2 separate regions of the Homo sapiens genome follow, and region 2 is linked to region 1. Evidence: promoter capture Hi-C in human tissues and cell types (Jung and others, 2019). All regions are on one chromosome and are shown on one strand. The core of a region is centred on a gene start or on the middle of the fragment in contact, and the rest is flanking DNA. Distances in the headings are between cores, read along the strand shown. Region 1 holds the start of BTLA (B and T lymphocyte associated). Region 2 overlaps CD200R1 (CD200 receptor 1).

Evidence for each region. Contacts are between HindIII fragments. The study calls those that stand out against the background at their distance.
Region 2: a fragment that was not itself captured here is called in contact with the fragment with the promoter of BTLA in region 1 in 1 of the 25 tissues and cell types used here (dorsolateral prefrontal cortex).

The regions. Positions count from the first base shown.
Region 1 is chr3:112,498,006-112,501,330 of GRCh38, reverse strand. It overlaps BTLA (B and T lymphocyte associated), which reads left to right and starts at 1,859. Exons shown (of 5, transcript NM_181780.4): 1 at 1,859-2,060. The coding sequence starts at 1,973. RefSeq lists enhancers at 2,138-2,267, 2,358-2,407, 3,276-3,325. The HindIII fragment of the contact is 5,711 bases long and covers 257-3,325 here.
Region 2 is chr3:112,966,960-112,970,284 of GRCh38, reverse strand. The region is part of intron 1 of CD200R1 (CD200 receptor 1); the gene reads left to right. Among named protein-coding and RNA genes, the nearest start is that of CD200R1, 6.5 kb to the left of the region's middle. The HindIII fragment of the contact is 4,924 bases long and covers 1-3,325 here.

The sequences.
Region 1 (3,325 bases), core at 610-3,109:
AATATACATAATTATGATGGGATTACAAAAGTTATAAGCTTAAGGCAAGATTGACTTGTTACTGAGCTAATTAATTTCTGAGTCTGGCTTCTTTCCTTTTTTTTTTTTTTTTTTTAACTAGAACGAAGACAGGAGTGAGATTCAGAGGCAGGGTTTTATCTACAGTGGGACACTCAGGACTCTACCTGTGGAGGGATAAAGTGCTAGGCATGCTAATAAAAGCAAGAAATATATAAATCTTTTAAAAATACATTAGATGCTACATAAGATTTTTTCCGAATTTTGTCTAATTAGCATGGACTTTTTATATGAAAAATATTTAAAATAGTGACATAACAGTTTTAAGCTGAGATAAAGTTAATATGATCTCTCTCTGGTTTGGGCTTATGTAACCCATAAGCCATAAGGTTATGGCTTTTGACCTGTGGGCCATTTTAAAGGGACAATGAGCCTTGCTTCAGCTGCCTCAAGAAGCTTTTACTCACTGTGAACACAGGAAAAGGAAGGAGCTGTGAAAATACTGCCTTAATATTTCCCAGGATGTTTATTTGATTAGTAACAGAAATTCTAAAAGGCTATGTGTACCCTCTCTGTATTATACTATATTATAAGACCAACACTAAAGGTGGATGTGAGGAAGTCGTAATACTGATTGAACGAGTTCTTTAAAATCAGCAATAGCAACTCATTCATCATTCATCTCCAACCATAGCACATTGTCTATTTGACTCAATAAATACATGATAACTGTTTTTTAATTTTAATTTACCCTTGGCAACTCAACTGGGAGCTCTGAATTAAGTATTGCCCATCAGTTTCCCATGTCAGGTCAAAATGTCCAGCAATCTATACACTTTCCTTGCTCTTAAAACTTTCCTTGAACTTAAAACTATTGAAGTTTGGCCTTGGAATAAAATCATCAGTCTCTGAGGAAAAAACTTATATAATCGACTTCTGTCAATGATCACTAATGCCACAAATCTAGATCTCTCATTTGGAGTCTCAAATGGCAGATGAATTTGATTAGCTCCTATGACTATAAGCTAAGCTAATTATTACAAGTGGATGTGGAGAAAACAGTCCTATGGTGGCCTGTGCTATCTGATCTTGAACTTTTCCATTTCTTCCTTTACTGTTTCTATTCTACTTCATCGAGACAACAACTGCATGAAGAATGTTTAAAATGGAAATTTCCTTTAATTGATATTCAAGATCTCCTTTAGATTAGAACTTTATTATCTAGAGAGAACATGTAGCCAATATTAATGATGATCTTGTTCCATTGATATGTATCCACAGATTAAAGACGGCTGCTCTTCCTTCTTCTGTTGAGGAAGTGCTTCCTGTCACTCATTTTCTCCATAACCTGAGATAAATCTTCACTGGTTTAATGACAATAAGCATCCTCATCTTACCGTGACATGTACAGGAAAAAAAAGAAACCTAAAATCTTTTACATAAAAGAAGTTTCATAATCACAAGCTATCACAAAGGGGAAAATGTATACTTACCATTGATAGTTTTACCATAAATTTCCTGACCTTAATTTGATTAAAATCTCAACTTAAAGACTGCAACAATACAGATTTCTTTAAAGTTTAATTGCTCATTTCACTGAACATTGAGTGCAGGAAAAACCTCAACCTGGGGCAAAAACGTGGTAGAGCGGAAGGAGAAGTTAAGGACTGAGCTGCTTTGCAGATCACAGTGTTTGAAAGTGAACAGCCAACCTGACAAGAAGCAAAAACCACAGAACAGAGTACCACATCGTCTTTCTGTTCACTTTTTTTCACAAAATCATCCAGGCTCTTCCTACTCTCCTCTCTTACCACCTCTCTCTTCTTTTTTTTTTTTTTTTAGTTATTTCACAGATGCCACTGGGGTAGGTAAACTGACCCAACTCTGCAGCACTCAGAAGACGAAGCAAAGCCTTCTACTTGAGCAGTTTTTCCATCACTGATATGTGCAGGAAATGAAGACATTGCCTGCCATGCTTGGAACTGGGAAATTATTTTGGGTCTTCTTCTTAATCCCATATCTGGACATCTGGAACATCCATGGTAAGGCACCTGCTTAGGTTATTTCTGGTTTTATTTCTCAGGGGGTCTTGGAGGCAACATTCTCCCTTGCTGAACTTAGTACGGTGTAACGTTTATACGAAGTGGGTAATCGTAGATGAAACCAAGCTGTTACATTTGCTTACCGAAGACATCGTAGAGCATAAACCAAATTAGAACATAGTATTCACCTGCCTAATCATAGGCATCGCATCAATAGCTTGGCTGACTTTCTTAAAAACATGTTGATGGTAGGAAAAGAGAACTGAGTAGATGTTATAAATAGTTAAGTACAAATCTATCACTACTTCTTGCAAAAATGCTCTGGCTGCCATACTGATAATGAATAGATAGCTCGTTCTTTCCAAACTGAGTGCAGTAGAGTGCTGCAGTGCTCAGTTGGGTAGGACAGTTGTTGGATAATCGGAATTATACATATCTCCATGGTTACCCTCAAATAATATTACCTCTAAATAAAATCTCTATACTTGCTTCATTGGGATGTATGCCTTGAGAATACCGATTGAGAAAATGCTACAAAATATAGGAGCAGAACTTTTCGTCATTGCTTCTATTTTGTTGAAAGGGAATGGTTCCTACTTGGTTGTCAATTGAACACAGAAAATAAGTTGGATTCTGCAAAGATGATATTTAGCCACCCCTGCAAAGACTTTATACAGGCAAAAAAAAAAAAAAAAAAAAAAAGGCAATTTCTTTTTTATTGTAAAGTCGCTTCCTACCTTATATTGCATAGGAACCCACATATTATCAAGAGGAAAAGCCTATGAGTGGCTCATCAGAAGCTTCTGATTTTTCAGGTTTTATTTTTTTATTTTTTTGAGACAAGAGTTTTGCTCTCGTCACCCAGGCTGGAGTGCAATGGCGTGATCCCGCCTCACTGCATCCTCTGCCTCCCGGGTTCAATCGATTCTTCTTCCTCCCGGGTTCAATTTATTCTCCTGCCTCAGCGTCCCTAGTAGCTGGGATTACAGGCACCTTCCACCACGCACAGCTAATTTTTGTATTTTTAGTAGAGATGTTGGATAACCCCAATTATCCAACATCTGTCCTACCCAACTGAGCACTGCAACACTCTACTGCACTCAGTTTGGGAAGAACGAGCTATCTATTCATCATCAGTGTGGCAGCCTGAGCATTTTCGCAAGAAGTAGTGATAGATTTGTACTTAACTATTTATAACATCTACTCAGTTCTCTTTTCTTGCCATCAACCTGTTTTTTAAGAAAGTCAGCCAAGCTATGGATGCA
Region 2 (3,325 bases), core at 482-2,981, 470 kb before region 1:
TTTATATGCCTAGACCCCATTCTAGGACCAAAATCTTTAAGGAAAGCAATACCAAAAAGTTCCAGGATTAAAGCAGGGCTAAAAGTTTTTCTATTTCTTTTTTGAGACAGGGTCTTACTCTATCTATCACTCAGGCTGGAGTGCAGTGGTGCAATCATGGCTTACTGCAGCCTTGACCTCCCAGTCTCAGGTTATCCTCCTGTTTCAGACTCCCAAGTAGCTGGGACTACAGGTGTGCACCACCACGCCAGGCTAATTTTTTTTTTTGTATTTTTTGTAGAGACAGGGTTTTCCCATGTTGCCCAGGCTGGTCTTGAACTCCTGGGTTCAAGCAATCCTCCTGCCTTGGCCTCCCAAAGTGTTGGAATTACAGGCGTGAGTCACTGTACCTGGCCAGTTTTTCCACTTTTGAAGAAATAATTTTCTTCAAAAATGTCTGTTACTTTGAGTTATTGTTGCTGTTGCAGGTTCTCTTGGAAGTTAGACTCTGAGATAGAGTTTTGTGTACAGTATGCTTGTGAGCAGAGGGAGAAGTCTACCTGCAATCTCAACCAACTGACACCCTCACTGACCCCACAGGGAGCTCAGGAGCTAGATTGGCCTTAGAGAGGCCCTGCATTGAATAAAAATGGCTGTTCCTTTATAACTCCATCTAAATCAGTCGTTGGATATGGGCTCCCCTGGAAAGGGTCTGACTTTGGTCTAAGTAACTGAAGTCATCCCTGGAGAGGCTGAAAACTGAAGACTGTCTGTTGACAGTGATCCTAGTGGCAGGAACAAAAAGTCAGAGGCAACTGTTGGTGGCACATACTATGTCCACTCTAGTTGTCATTTCTAATACTCTTAATTCCTTCTTGAATTTCCAAGTTTCTACCTGGTATTATTTTCTTTCATCCTGAATAATTTCTGTTATTGTTTCTAGTAGTGTAGGTCTGCTAGTGAGGAGTTCTCTTAGTTCTTAGTTCCCTTTTTATACATATTTTCCCCAATATCTTGTCTCTCTGTTCTTTTGATTGAATAATTTCTATTGCTATATATTCAAGTTCACTGACAATTACAATTTCCTTTCTCCTCTTCATTCTTCTGTAAAGCCCTAGTTAATATATTATTTTAGATATTGTATTTTTCAATTTTAAGATTTCCATTTATTTGTTAAAAGTTTTTTTTCTCTGCTGAGATTTTTCTGTGTTTTTATTCATTCATTGTGAGTATATATTTCTTTATGTCACTAAGCATAGCTGAATGTTGCTGTAAGACTCTTGTCTGAGAATGCGAGTGTCTGGGTCAACTTGAAGTTGTTAGTCTCCCTTAATGTATTTTCTCCTAAGCATAGGCCACATTTTCTTGGTTCTTTGTAAATTAAATAGTTTTATTTGGGTTTTGAATGTTGCACAGATTCTGTTATATTGCTGTGTTGATATTTTACTTGGTTGGACCCAAACTGCAAACTCTACCCCTTGGACAGCATCTCAAATCTGAGTTCTTTTACTGGTAGCTAATCTGCTTTGACTGTGACCTGCAATGTGTGGTTTAGAGTCATCAGAGATATGGGTAGAGTGTATGCAGAATTTGGAACTCTTTTACTCTGACTCTGTCACTTTTCAGAGAGTAAAGTTGCCCTAAAATCTGCCTGCTGGTTCTTCAGAAAACTGTGGGCTTTCCATTAGAGTAGCTGCCTAATGTGGTATCATCTGCAGCCCTCTCTGGGACTAACATCGGTAAAAATGGGGAAATAATGGGAACCTACACCCACAACTCTGATCCCCTATTTCCTTCTTCCAAGCATTGACACCCTTCAAGAATTTTTCTGCTTCCTCCACTTTCCAGTAACCTCAGGTAGTTGTTTTTATATTTTGTCCACAATTTATAGTTCTTACCTGTGGAAACTCACTGGCCCATAAAGAAGTGAAACTTTCTTCAAATATACATATTTTAAAATATTATTGTATTTTTACAACTAATATTGACTTAGTGGTTATATTGTCTTGGATGTTAAGATTGAATATATTATTATGCTTTTTTGCTTTCTAAATGTTACCCATGCATTGAATGTTTTGGTACATTTCACTTTTCTCAGTAAAATTTCGTTCTTCTTTCCCATAATTTCTAGTAAAATTTCTAGACACTAATTTAGATACCAATAGATACCAATTTCTAAATACAAATATAACTCTGTGTTGGGTCTAAAGATCAGTTATGTAATTCTAACCACTAGCTGTTTCATCTTTAGAAATTGCTTAACTTCTTTTGACAGTAATTTCCTCATTTGTGAAATGAAGATGTATGACACTATTAAGAAGTATAAAGCCTTCACAAAGGAAGTACTTTAGGAACCTTCAAATTAAAAATCTTTCATTTTATACATGGGGCAAATAAAGCCCAAGTGTGTATGTGGGATTGCTAATCATATCAAACAGCTTTCTGGGGTGTGAGCTGAGTTTTGAACACCTTCATAGTACAAAAATTAGAGGGGAAAGGGATGGGGCAAGTGTGTGGGAGAAAAATCTATGTCTTTTAGATGTGATACACTTGAAATGACAGCAAGTATTCAAGTGGGGACAAATTTCAGCTAAATGTTTGAGATTCTTGCTTAGGAAAAATAAGTCAAAGCAAAAATGTGGGTGGGTTATTCTGTCAGCCAGTAATTTAGAGTGTCTGTCATGTATCAGTCACTGTGCTTCATGCTGTGGACATTTGATCAAGACAGACATAGGTCCTGCTCTCATGGAATTTAAATCTGGTGGGAAAGATAGATATTAAATCAATTACTGCAAATAATTAAACAATGCGCAAGTGCATAAGGATAAATATAGGGTGACATAGAAATGTGTAACTGGTGAGTCTAATCTGGTTTGAGGATCAAGTTAGGCTCCTCCAAGGAAGTGATGTTTAAGATGAAGATGAACAGAAACAGCGAGGTAAGAAGAGTTGAGGGATAAACATTCCAGGCAGGTCAAACAGGCTTAATGAAGGACAGAGGGAGCTAAACTATGACTGGAGTGGTGAAAACAAGAGGAAATCACCTGTATAGAGATCTAGTTGAAGTTCAAGGGGTTAAGGAGCAAGAGGAGAGAAAGTGTAAAGAGAAAAAGCAGCTGAGACTTTGGTGAATACTGACATTACGATGCCCAAGGAGAAAGATAGCTTGTAGAAAATATATGAGAGGAGGCAGTGAAGATAGGGAAAGAGACAGAGAAGGGAATGCATGGGTGTAGTGGGAAGGCTAGGAAAGGGGTTTTAGAAGGAGAAGAAAGTGGTTAATTGTGTTAAAATCCATCAACAACTTAGGAACACCAGCACTGAAAAGAGGCCAAAAGCTTGACTA